Regions from separate parts of the Homo sapiens genome. Here region 2 is linked to region 1. The links are contacts of gene promoters, found by promoter capture Hi-C in human tissues and cell types (Jung and others, 2019). All regions are on one chromosome and are shown on one strand. Each heading gives the region's core, a stretch centred on a gene start or on the middle of the fragment in contact. The rest is flanking DNA. Distances are from core to core; before and after follow the strand shown.

The links. Contacts are between HindIII fragments. The study calls those that stand out against the background at their distance.
Region 2: a contact is called between a fragment that was not itself captured here and the fragment with the promoter of SH3GL2 in region 1, in 2 of the 25 tissues and cell types used here (neural progenitor cells and thymus).

The regions. Positions count from the first base shown.
Region 1 is chr9:17,574,584-17,581,406 of GRCh38, forward strand. It overlaps SH3GL2 (SH3 domain containing GRB2 like 2, endophilin A1), which reads left to right and starts at 4,483. Exons shown (of 9, transcript NM_003026.5): 1 at 4,483-4,704. The coding sequence starts at 4,660. RefSeq lists a silencer at 3,295-3,493. The HindIII fragment of the contact is 4,711 bases long and covers 1,963-6,673 here.
Region 2 is chr9:17,833,497-17,840,319 of GRCh38, forward strand. No RefSeq gene overlaps it. Among named protein-coding and RNA genes, the nearest start is that of SH3GL2, 260 kb to the left of the region's middle. The HindIII fragment of the contact is 4,048 bases long and covers 846-4,893 here.

The sequences.
Region 1 (6,823 bases), core at 3,233-5,732:
CTCCTCTGTGATTGGGTTAAAAGGGTTTATCTAAGTGAAAAGGAAGTTTTTGCAGGGAGAGGCCCCTGTACTTTGGGGGGAGGAGGGCTATATGGGAGAGAAGGAAAGGTGGGAAAGGTGGCCATCCCCGGCAGAAAGACCCACACATCCACTTCAAAAGAGGTTAAAAAAAAATGCTTCTCTCTGTGTATCTGTTGGAGAGTGGGTGGTAGGTGACAAAACTGGAAGCAAGGAAACAAAGATGGTCTTTCCCTTGATTTCTCATCTCTAGGAAAGGGCGTGTTAGCCCTGCCTGAGCTAGGTGGGTGTTCAATGCTACTGGGGCGCATCCAAAGGCACAAAATCTTATGTTAAGCGCCACTCACCCTGGAAAAACTGGGTCCTGCGCAATCGAGGTTTTAGTATCTGGTGAAGGCTTTTGAACATCAGATCCAATGTGGTCAGAAGAAAGCATCAGTGTCAATGATACATTGTTCATTCTTTTATTCATTCATTCATTCATTCAAACCTCTTCTATTTATTAACACTGACTAGAGGCTCTACCCTGAATTGAGGCTAAAGGCTGGAGTAGAAAAAGTAAGGATAAGTCACTTCCCTTCATTGCCTCTGTTTTCCTATCTCTAAAATAAGAAGTTGGAGTTTAATGCCTTTGCTTTGCAATGTTTCTTATGCTTAACGAGCTTACACATGAAGTCAGGAGTAGTTTGCCCCGGTATGAGCCAGAGGCACAGAGACAGGGGTTGAAGCTCAGAAAGATGAATGCTGCTGCTTTTCCTCTGCCTCCTTGAAGCTAGGGACCCTCTGAAAGGTGCCAGGGATGCAGCAGCTCTGTGCAAATGAGAGGTCTGGTATTTGCCAGAAGCTTTACCATAATGCAAGGAGAAATAGTGCATGAATGATGTGATGGGATTATTGCTGACCACGAATTTACTGCCCAATTAGTGAGGTGATATTTTGTGGGGGTTTCATTTAATTGGGACTTTCCTGAGCAGATCTAGGTTTATTTAACAGTTTACATTGATTTTTATCTCGGGAGACTAGGGCAGCATGCTGAATTACCACAACCTTTTACCAAACAAAGCTCTTCCTCGTTGACTTTTGATTCCCCTTTCCCTGCATTGTGCTTCTGCATTTCTCTCCAAAGCCTCTGTTGAAGATTCTTTGCAACCAAAGATGGCATCCATGCTTAGAATTGTTCAGTGTCTGGGGTATTTGTTCCTCTGTATTCAAGTAACAATAAATGTCCCTAGGAAGATTTTTTTTTCAAATTACTCGTCTGGAAACCCCTTGGGATTCAAGGTCCAGCCCATACATGCCTCGATACTTCCCCTTCTCAATCCCAGCATCTCCTACCATGATGCTTGCTAGTAGGAGGAGCTTAACAAATTTCTTCAAAGGTGACATCTCAAAGGTCTTTACAGGCATAAATTGTGGCTTCAATACAAATGCTGGGTTTAGATGATGTATCAGTCTGTTTTTACGCTGCTGATAAAGACATACCTGAGACTGGGCAATTTACAAAAGAAAGAAGTTTAATTGGATTCACAGTTCCACCTGGCTGGGGAGGCCTGACAATCATGGCAGAAGGTGAAAGGCACCTCTCACATGGCAGCAGACAAGAGAAGAGAGCTTGTGCAGGGAAACTCCTGTTTGTTTTTTTTTTCTTTTATTATTATATTTTAAGTTTTAGGGTACATGTGCACATTGTGCAGGTTAGTTACATATGTATACATGTGCCATGCTGGTGTGCTGCACCCATTAACTCGTCATCTAGCATTAGGTTTATCTCCCAGTGCTATCCCTCCCCCCTCCCCCCACCCCACAACAGTCCCCAGAGTGTGATGTTCCCCTTCCTGTGTCCATGTGATCTCATTGTTCAATTCCCACCTATGAGTGAGAATATGCGGTGTTTGGTTTTTTGTTCTTGCGATAGTTTACTGAGAATGATGATTTCCAATTTCATCCATGTCCCTACAAAGGACATGAACTCATCATTTTTTATGGCTGCATAGTATTCCATGGTGTATATGTGCCACATTTTCTTAATCCAGTCTATCATTGTTGGACATTTGGGTTGGTTCCAAGTCTTTGCTATTGTGAATAATGCCGCAATAAACATACGTGTGCATGTGTCTTTATAGCAGCATGATTTATAGTCCTTTGGGTATATACCCAGTAATGGGATGGCTGGGTCAAATGGTATTTCTAGTTCTAGATCCCTGAGGAATCGCCACACTGACTTCCACAATGGTTGAACTAGACACTCCTGTTTTTAAAACCATCAGATCTTGTAAGACTCATTCACTACCACGAGAACAGTGTAGGAAAGACCCACCCCCATAATTCAATCACTCCCACTGGGTTCCTCCCACGACACGTGGGAATTGTGAGAGTTACAATTCAAGATGAGATTTGGGTGGGGACACAGCCAAACCATATAAGATGAGGTGCAGAGGATGCCTGGGCGACTAAATCAATGGTTTCCAAAGGATTTAATGTAATGCCCTTAAGTAGTTTTTTTCTCCCAAGGTAGTTTCTTTGAAGTTAAGCAGCATGAGACTTCCAGGTTGGTGGATGAAGAACCAGGGAAAGATAGAAACTGCCTTTTTTATAATGTAGGGCTCAGTTAAGTATTCAAAGTTCCAAGGAGGCAATTCAGGCCCCCATTTCACACCTTTCACTGTTAGAGAGCAGAGCTCCTATCCATCCCAGGCCCTTCCACTTTGTAGATCAATTGCTCTATCTTTTGGCAGCTTCAACAAAGCCCTGTCTTATGAAAATGCTTTATTGTTCAGATCAGGGACCTGGTAGTAAAAATTAACTATAAAATACTTTTTTTTCTATTATGCAAGTAATGGGTAGCCTTTTTAAAAATTGGAAACATAGAGAAAAAAGTTTATTCCTAACAACCGGAGCCTCAGTGGATTAAAATTACTCAGGTTTCTCACTGATGCTACATGCCCATTGAACGTCAGGTGGGGACTCTGCACTGCTTTAGTCTCACTCTGGATACTGGCTGACAGACCACAGCTTTCTAGAATATTGCGGCCGAGGAAAAGAAAGCTTTGCGGCATCTCATACATCTCATATTGCTGCTGCAGAAGTGACAGTCACTTTTCCTCTTAAACCTCTAGTCAAAACTTGTAACCATGCCTCCACTTAACAAGAGGTTTGGAAAGTGCAATTCTGCCATGTAGGGAAAGGTATATGAACAGTGGTAAGGGCTACCACACTGGAGAATAGCTCCTTTCATCTGCCTCCCTTTGCAGCCTGCGTCCCTAGTCCATGCGCTCTACTGCTCCAGTGCCCACCACTGCTTGACTCTGCCTTTGTGTGTGTCAGTTCACATTATCAAGAAGGACCATGACTGGTAGCTCTACGGATGGAGGACCCTTTTGTAGCAGGTGTTCACCCTGTGCCCAAGCCGCAGTGCCTAGAAGAGTGGGGATGGGTCTGTGGCTCCTATCAGGCTGCAGGAGTTGCGGAGACAGAAAAAGTATTTCTAGGACTCCCATTTGGCCTTGCAGTCTCTACACATCCTTGGCAATTTCTCCCATCTTGGCTTCTCCTTCTTATCACTTTGGTCCACATACGGGGACAGCGTCTAAGTTCTTTCTGACCACCTCCTCAGTCCTAGAAAAACCAGACTTGGTTAAGTACCAGAGCACAGAAGGCATTTAGTGCTGCTCTGCTCCCAAGTCATCTATTAGTTTCACTTTAGCCAGCCATACCTCCTTGGTTACATATGAAGCATCTGTATATAACTTAGTATCATGCTTTTTCACATTATATTTTGATTTTTATCGGACCGGAAACCCTAAATCCACAAGCATAACAACAAGATCACATTTGGGCTTTTTCATTTCTGTAACCAGAGGATTGAACGCTAGTTTTGTAGTAAGACTTCAATTCTATTTATCCGTCCAGGCTTAAGGGTTCCTGTTCTTCTTTTTAAGTCATTAAATTGTATCAGACAAGGGGGAAAACGCGTGTGTGACTTTCCCTAAGGTAAGATGGGCTTAAGGGATATTGAAACCAGGGCAGAGAAATGTTTTCTGTGACCCACCAGTCAGGGCAAGGCATAGAAGGAGCAATGACTTATTCATTAGCCCAGATAGAAGGCCAGTCTTTTTCAGGCTGCGGCGCAGAGACGCCAGGCTCAAAGGGCAGGAGGGCCGTCTGCAGGCAGCGCCGCCGCGGCTACCTGGAAGCCCAGCAAGTCACCTGAGTCCTGCGGGTGCCTGGGCTGCCAATCTGCAGCGACCCGTCCGCAGCCCCCGGGGGCAGGAACACCAACCCCGGGACAGGAGGACGTCCTCGGCCCGCTGACTAGGGATCCGCCAGCGGGTGCCGCTGAGCCACATCCCCGCAGTTGGCGCCAGCATCCAGGTACCGCGCGCCACAGCACCTGCCTGGGCGTTCCCGCGCTTGGGGCGGGGCTTCCCGCGTCCCCTTTAAGAGGCCGCATCACCCGCCCTTGACGTCAGAGTGTTTCTCCGCAAGAGCCCGTGTCCCGCTAGGCTCCGCGCCCTCGCGCCCATAGCCCCGGCGGCGGCACGACCAGAGGCGGCCAGGGGAGCGCGCCGCCCCGCTCGGCCCTCCAGTCCCCCTCCGCCTCCTCCCTCCCGCACAGCAGCCGCCAGCGCGGCCTCCTGCACCATGTCGGTGGCCGGCCTCAAGAAGCAGTTCCATAAAGCCACTCAGGTAAGGCGCGCGGCAGGTGCGTCCCGGGGCAGTCCGGGGCGAAGCTGCGAGGGGCGCGCTCGGCGCTGGCCGTCCGGCGGCAGCTTGGGGAGTTCGGCACCGAGCCTCGCCCGCGCCGGCCGCGCCCCGCCTCGCAAGCCAAGGCGGCGGCTCGGGGCATCCCCGGTCTGGGCGTCCACCCTCGGTCCCCCGCCCCCGGCTTGGTGCGCGCTGCCTTCCCGCGGGTCCCCGGCGTCCTGCCTGGTAGCGCTGCTCGCCGCCCCCGCATCATCTCGCGCCCGTGCTGCAGGAAGGGGACCGCGGCTGCACTGCTGCCGCGGCGCGCAGGTGCCTTGGCGGCGCGGTGGGAGATTATGTAAAGTCGCCTCTTCACGGGTGACCTTGCGGAGTCGGTGCACCCGGCTTTCCCGGGATGTGTTGGCATGAGCGGTGGCCGCACTGGGGGTGGCGGGGCGGAGGCCGGCGGTTTGCGCTCCTCTCCCTTACCCTGTTGTCAGAACCCTCCTTCCCCGCCGCCCGCAGGCTCCAGGGGAATGGAAGGCTGGGGTCTTCCTTTAGGGACCCGCATACATTAACTTTTACCTGGAGAACTCGGTCGTGAAACTCCTTTGAGGCCAGGGCATGACAAACAGTCTGCGGGTCTTAAATATTTCCCTAAAACAACCAAATTGTTGAAGACTTAAAATCATCATGTATTTTAAATTGTTTTTAATAAATCTTTGGCATCTTGGATGTGCCCATTTTTCTTTATGGGGTTAATAAGCTGTGACTGTAATAAAACTGATTAATTTAGATTCTAATAATTAAAATCATTGGACTCAAAGAATTTTACATAGGGGCAAGTAAGCGAATACTTACGCTGTGACCTATTTCTTACATAATGTGTGTGATTACTACTTTTTTATCCTTCTGAAATAGGTTCAAATTTATGGGATCTTTAAGGATTTTGATGACTTACCGCGAAATGTTTTTCATGATTTGGTGTTAAATAGTTTTTCATAGGTTAGCCTTAATTAACGAGCTTTCTCATAATTTCTCGGAAGTAGTGAGGTTTTTCCTAGGCTACCACAGTGGCAGCCTTGTTATGAACCACATCCAGAAAAGGTGAGGGTTGTGTTTTACAGAACCTTGGTTAACTTAGGGTGACAGATGCAGCATGTAATTCCCGTCGTGTGTGTGTTTGCACGCATCTGCATCATCTTCATCACACATTCTTGCCTTTATAGAATCAATTATACCTGTCAACTTAGGAAATCAAGAAAAGTAAGACTATTTCTGTAAAAATGTTTCTTAATGTAATTATTTTTGCTTTTCTATTATAATTGGAGTTATCTGTGACCTCTCTGCCAGACATGTTTATGAAAGTAAGTGATTTGTTTGTTGATGTAGTTTGGAAGGCTTCTAATAACTTTATACTGCAAGTTCTTTCAGGTTTACAGAACCAAGCATATGTGCTGCCCAGGAATTCTGTGGCAGGACTTCTTCGATATTACTAACCTTTTTGATTGCTCTACTGGTCACTTCTCTATAGCATATCTCAGCACTGCGTTTACCAACACATCTTTTTTCCACTTGGATTCTAAAGATTTCTTTTGCAAAGCTTAGTGCCCTCAAAGGCAATTAAGAGTCTTGGCTTTGGAGTGGGAAAGGCTAAGGTTTGAATCCTGCCTCTGCTGCTTCTGACCTTGAGAGAGTATTTAACTTCTGAACCTGTCCATGCTGAAGTGATGATAATTTCCGTTGTCTCTTCAGGGTTGAGGTGAAGAGAAACGAGTGTGTAGAACACACGTATAAAGTGTTCAATAAATTATAGTTATTGACATAAAGGATATTTTTATTAGTATAAAATACTATCCCTTATGCTGTGAAGAAGTTACCCAAGCTAGACCTTTTAGTTTTTCCAACTTAAAAAATAGAGCGCTCCATTTCCGCTAAATCTTGAAGTTCTGTGTCGCCCTAAAGTGTAGAAAAAATAATTTAAACTGCGTTAGGAAAGAACTTAAAAGGTTGGAGAAGGTCGGCATGTGATGCGATACGGTTAATGTTTATCACACCGAATCCAAATGCAGAATCACTGCGTCATTGTCTTCCTTTTACTGAAAAGCCTTTTATTTGAAAG
Region 2 (6,823 bases), core at 1,620-4,119, 260 kb after region 1:
AAAAACTTTTTGACTCTTTTGTAAAATCACTTAGCTTAAAACATTGTCTAGCTGTACAAAATTATTTTCTTTATTTTCTATTTTGAATTATTTTCCTACTTTTTAGATATTTGTGTTAAAAACTAAGACACAAACACACATATTAACCTAGGTACACACAGAGTCAGGGTCATCAGTATCACCATCTTCCACCTTCACGTCCTGTCCCACTGGAAGGTCTCCACACTCAGTAACATGCACGGAGCTGTCACCTCCTGTGTTAACAATGCCTTCTTCTGGAATACCTCCAGAAGGACCTGCCTGAGACGGTTTTACAATTGGCTTTTTTAAAAAATAAGTAGAAGGAATAAGAAAGTTTTTTTCTAAATAACAATGAAAAGTATAATATAGGAAATACATAAACTAATAACATATTTATTAAGTATTATTTACTGTACATAATTGTATGTGCTGTACTTTTATGCAACTGGTGGTGTAGTCACTACAAACGTGAGTACTCCATTGCATTATAGAAATATGTCATACGCCTATGACGTCACTAGGTAATAGGAATTTTTTGGCTCTGTCATAATCTTACAGGACCACCATCACGTATGTGGTCCATTGTTTACTGAACCATCGCTATGTAGTGAATAGGACTGTGCGTGTAAAGCTCCTATAACACGCAGGTAGCACTGTGTAGGTTCCCTTTTCCCTGTTTTTAGAAAACCTCTTTCTGTTAACTTTCCCCTCTTTTAAAATATTCATTCTCCAGCTGATAGACATGTTTCATAGCTTAGAACAAGGGTAGCCACAGGATCTCAGTTCCAGCCCAAGTTTTCCAATTTCAGCATTTTCCCAGTTGTGTGGCTATGTAATGCTGTGATATGTTCTTGTACTGTAAACACCAGTGTACCACACCCAGATTTTCCTGAAATAGGAAGAACTGATGTTATGTAAGAAGCAGAGTTTGAGGTGGGAAAAGAATATTTCTTACAGCCCTGAACTTAGTTCTGCTTATAACCCTGGGTAATGTAATATGTGAGAGAAGCCAGGTCTGGGCAGCAAGAGAGGAACTAAAAGGGTGAAGGAAAATGGAAGGCGGATTGAGACTGGCAAAGGGACAGGGACGAGGATAGAGATTGAGAGAGGGACTGGGATCAAGGAAGGAAGTGTGGAGCTGAACTGCTTTCCTCTTCCTAGGCCCTTTAGAGCATACATGTGCCTTACATGCAGACAGGGCACAGCACTTGTCTCCTGTGCACAGCACTTGGGCAGAACAGGCTGACAGCTGATGGCCAGATTTCCTGTAATTAATTACCAGATCATTGATGCACCCTAGGTGACTGGTGAACCCAGAAATGTAACCTGCAGACTAAATGGAAATGTCAAGACCCTCTTTACTTTTTGCCTTGTTCATATTTTGCCCTGCTCCTCATTTTTGTCCAGTCTCCTGTTGTCAGCTCTGCTCCTGATGATCTTGGTGCTCATGCACTAAATTTGGTTTCCATGGGTCAGCTCTAATGCTAGCCAAAGAGTCTTAATGGGATGTCTCTCTTTAACTCCCAGTGGTATCCTCATCCCGGCTTTAGCACCTGCTCATGGAATGGAGGTTGATCTCAGCCTGACCAAACTAAGTTTTCCTTTCTGATGTGTTAAGCTATATTTTCTCTATCCTTCCATGATTTGAAAATGTCTTTGTTTTAAAGTCTAGTTTTCCTAAAAGAAATTTTGTTACATGGATAGATTGCATAGCGGTAAAGTCAAAATATTCTCTGATGTTGTCAGTAACAGTTGCTCAATCAGATTAGCTAATTTATCAGTGTGAGTGAATGAAAAGAGGAACCATAAATCAGGATGTAGATGGGAGGTGGGAAAGAAGCTTCAAGAAGAGGCTGAAGATTCATGTAATTTAAGGAAGCCTGGGTTAATAGGTAAGAGCAGTCTAGAAGAACACCATGGCTCTTTCGTTTACGTAGTATTTTGTTTAGAGAAGGTAAGAATGAGTGCTGGGGAAAAGCTTTTCTTTACTACTTTCTAGTTTTTAACATATAAACCTTTCTTCTAGCTAAGAGACTAGGTTTTCTAAAATCCAAGTTGTCCAAAATATAATTTGTCTTAAAATGACCTTGCATACCCCACATTAATAACCAAAGCTTCCACCTTAAGAAACTGAAAAAAAAGTAAATTCACCCCAAAGCAAGTGGAATGTAGGATATAATAAAGATTAGAGCAGACACTAATGAAATGGAAAGCAGAAAATTAGGTAAAATCAGGGAAAACAAAAGTTGGTTATTTGAAAAGACCAACAAAATTAAAATCTCATCTAGACCAGTGGTTCTCAACCAAGGGTGATTTTGTACCCCAAGGGATATTTTGTCAATGTCTGGAGAAAAATTTAATTGTAATGCTTTGTGTGTGTGTGTGTGTGTGTGTGTGTGTGTGTGTGTGTGTGTGACAACTCGTGGGTAGAGATCAGAGATGCTCCTAAATATTCTACAATGCACGACAGCCCCTCCATGCTAAAATTATTGTGCCCAAATATCAATAGTACTAAGGTTGAGATACCTGATTTAAACTGACAAAAAAAAAAAAAAATGAAAAAGGAGACATCACTACTAATCTCACAGAAATTAAGAGGATTATAAGAGCACATGATGAACAATTTTAAGCTAACAAATTAGACAATGTAGATGAAATAGTTCATAGCATGATACAAATTAATGAAACTGACTAAAGAAGAAATAGAAAACATGCATAGACTAGTAAAGAATTTTAATAGTAATGGAAAAAATCTTCCCTCAGAGAAAAGCATAGGTCCAGATATCTTCACTGGTGAATTCTATAAAACACCAATTTTTTAAAAAAACATTTCCACAAATTGTAAGAGAGAACATTTCTGAACAAATTCCATGAGACCAGTATACCCTTATACAAAGCTGGACAAAGACATCTCAAGAAAATAAAACTACAGACCAATATTCCTCATGGTTGTAGATGCAAAAATCTTCAGCGAGATATTAGCAAAATGAATCCAGCAACATATAATATGATTATACACCGTGCCAAAGTAGGATTTCCCCTAGTAATAGAAGGTTGGTTTACTATCTAAAAATCAATCAATGTAATGTCACATTAATATAATACTATGAATAAAGACAAAAATCACATGGTCATCTCAATACATGCACAAAACATTTGACAAAAATCTAATCCTCATTCATGATAAAATTTTTTAGTAAACTGTAAATGGAAAATACTTTTCTCAACCTGATAGAGGAATTCTATGAAAAATCTGTAAGTAGCATTATATAATACTTATTGGTTAAAGACTGACTGCTTTTTCCTCTAAAATTGGGGGAAAGACTACATATTATATGATTCTATTTATATATATCTTGAGATAAATAAATCTATAAAGGCATGTAGCAGATTGGTGTTTGCCTGTGATGGGAATGGAGTGACAGCAAATGGGCACTAGCAATCTTTATGGGGGAATAAAAATATGCTAAAATTGGATTTTGGAGATAGTTTCACAACTCTGTCAATTCACTAAGAATCATTAAATTGTAAAATTAAAATGGATGAATTTTATGGAATCTAAATAATGTTTAACAATACTCTAAAAACGTTATTATGTGTGGGGTGTGGGGTGTGTGTAAGTACATGTTTGGGAATGATTCTTAGAATTTCCAAGGGCTTGAGCCTAGTCCTGGCCTAATCTTGAATTCGCTGTCTGTCCTTGGTAAAATTACCTTATCAATTTTTTCATCTATAAAGCAAAAGGGCAGAACTACTTACTTTCCAAAATTTCTTCCAGTTCTTCTAACATTGTATGTATCAGGGTGCTTTTGTGTGAATTGTGGCTCATGATTCAGGTAGCTAAGATTACATGCTAGGCTTCAGAGAAAGGTCTTCCTCTCTGCCTTAGAGAGTTAAGAGACCATTAGGATGAAAGAACCTTTTAGAGATGGATCAGGGTTAGGTTATGCCCTTCACCGTGGGGGTGAGAACACTGATTGATTAACTTGTCCAAACCAGAACATCTCCTTAAATAGCCAAGGTGGGACTAGAATCCACTCATCTGGTCCCATGTCCATCCTTCCCCAGGGGAAAGTTGTGCTTTTATATTTCTTTTACTGGGAGTCTGGAGAGGGTAAGCTTGGGAAAAAAGTAGGCAAGAAAGAACTCTCGGGTGCCTATATGAGCGGGTTTGATTTTCATGCTTGTAGCTATGAGCCTGAGTCTGTGGCAGCTGTGGACGAGTGGGAAGGGTGTTGCCATATTTATGTCTGGTATCTTCCTTGCATGACGGTAAACACACACTCGTTTTCTAGCCATCTTTTTGCACTTGTCTCCCTATCGTGAAGTAAAGTCACCATAAACATCAGCTTTCAGGAAAACTCCTATTTATTCAAAAGATATTTTATTCTCATAAAAGCCAAACCAAAAAAAAATAATTATGTAAAAGTCAAAGCACAGTAAAATCCCTATAAATCCATGGCCTGATTTCACAGCTCTCAGCAGGGACCCACCAGGGTCCCACCAGGTCCGGTTCATTTCTCTTTCCCCTTTCATCCTATTACTGCTTTCTCATTGCTTCTTATCTCCAAGCTCCATCCCAGAGTATAATAGTTAGGGTGACAATCTGTCTGCCACCTTGTGGTTAGGAACCTAAGTGTTGTCGGTTAAGTTCCTTGGATCTAGAGAATTTGGAAAGTTTACATTTGACTATCAGGGTAATAAAAACCATAAAGCTCGTAATTAATGGTAAGAACAGATGTCATGTATTAAGGACTACAAGCTAAGCAGAATGCGAAGCTCTCTGTATGCATTAATGCATCTGTTTCTCAAAATAACCTTATGAGACAGGCACTGTTATCTCCATTTCCTGGTGAAGCAACTGAAGCTCAGATGAGTTAAGTAGAGGGTTTAGAGTTAAGGAAAATGAGTGGGCAAGGCCCTCAAATGTGTCTACTTCTAGGGCTGCTCTCTTGGTGTGACCATTGCACCACTCTCCTCAATCCCTCTCATCCCAATCCAATTTCAACCAATGCTCAAATATGTCTACCACACCACTGTTGATGGACCATCCACCCTTCCCGTGAAAGGGAACTTACTACCACTGAGGCATTACATTCCATAGTAACTTTCTGCAGCCAGTGCCCAGCACTTGTTCTGGAACTGTTATACCAACACATTTAAAATCACATAATTGGCTTTACATTTTTTAAAAAAGGGTATCATGCCCCTTTGCCCCTTGAGCCCTCACCACTCTTACAAGGCAATCCTAGTTCTTGAACAGTCTCTAAATGACAAGGTTTTGTGTCTTTCTACCACTCTGGTTTCTCTCCTTTGACCAGGCCCCAGGTCATCCCTACTCCCTCTTAAAAAGTGGAGTTTGGAACACACAGCACAGGTGGAGCGATGGCATTACCTTCCTCTTTCTAGTTTCTGTACTTCTAATGCTGCCTAAATTTTGTTTAGTTTTCACATTATTCGGTTAATTACTTGGGAAGTGCATTTTAATCTCTATATGGTTAAATAAAATAGATTTAGAAATAACAGTTGAATACATAGAACTTGAAGAAACATTTGTTAAATGCTCTTTTATATCCACTGTATCTTATTTCAAAATTGATTGCCTCTATGTCTATTTCCATGTAAGCTTGCTGATGATTTTACTCCTTGACCTCATAATCCAAATTTGGCCAAGGATGTTTGCTGGTCCTCTTTTTTAAATGCCCTTTCCATAGAGGAAAAATAAACAGACCCTTGTTGTGACAAGCATGGCCGAGCCATGTCCTAGCGGAAGGGGTTGTATCCTGTGCTCATTCCTCTCCTGATTAATTGCCAAGCTGCATATTTGACCACAGAAGATGCTGAGGAACTCTGCCCACTCCAAGTTTAGCCTTGATCTTGGTGAGTAGAAAAATTCTCTGTGTCAATGGCTAAAATTACCTAGTCAGGTTCTCTCTAACTCTGGCCTGCATTTTCCATCATTTGTTTATTTGCCGTGGGAAGAGATCATCTTCCAAAGTGGGCCAAAGGCAGATAGATTCAGCTCTACCCCATGTTGAGGCATAATCATTTTCCAAATCTGCCTGGGGACGCAAATTAGTTCTGGATGCTTTCCTGTCACTTGGGCGGAGGGCTTGTCTCCAGCATTAATATTGACATAGATATAAACTATTGCTGCCTTTCTAGTTTTTAACCAGTTCTTACGGCCTCACAAATATTTTTTAAAGGTGAAAAACAAAACACTTGCCAATTTCTTTATTTCTTAAAGCACTCAAGCGGTAGGTCCTCTCTGATACCCTTAAATCATAAGAACATTTCCCCAACCAGGCCTTTGTCCTGTAATTCTACCTGGAAGCAACTTAATCCACGTTTGAGGTTGTTGCCCTCTTCCTAAGGACCGACGACGCAGAAGGTGGTTGAGTAGGATGAAATCTGAGCCCTCCTGGCAGGCTTGATTTTTAACACATGTCTAAAGCATGTATTTAGCTGTCACCAAGAGAGCTGACAGTTTCTGGGAGAGGTACTATGTACAAAGGACCAGCAGTGGGCATTCCCAGACCACACCCACTTACAGCATGATGTGATCTGAGCTTCTTTTTTCTCCAGAGCCAAACACACAGAATGAAGCGAAAATTCAACCACAGTAATAAAAAAAGAAAACAAACAAACAATGACAACAACAAAACCCTACCATTTAAAAGGCACCAGAATAAGCCATACCAGAGTTTTTTGGGGAGTGGCACCCTAAAAGGACATTGATGCAGGTAGAAAAAAGTATTCAAAAGCAAGTTTACTCATCAAAAGTACATTTTTCTGTCTTGGC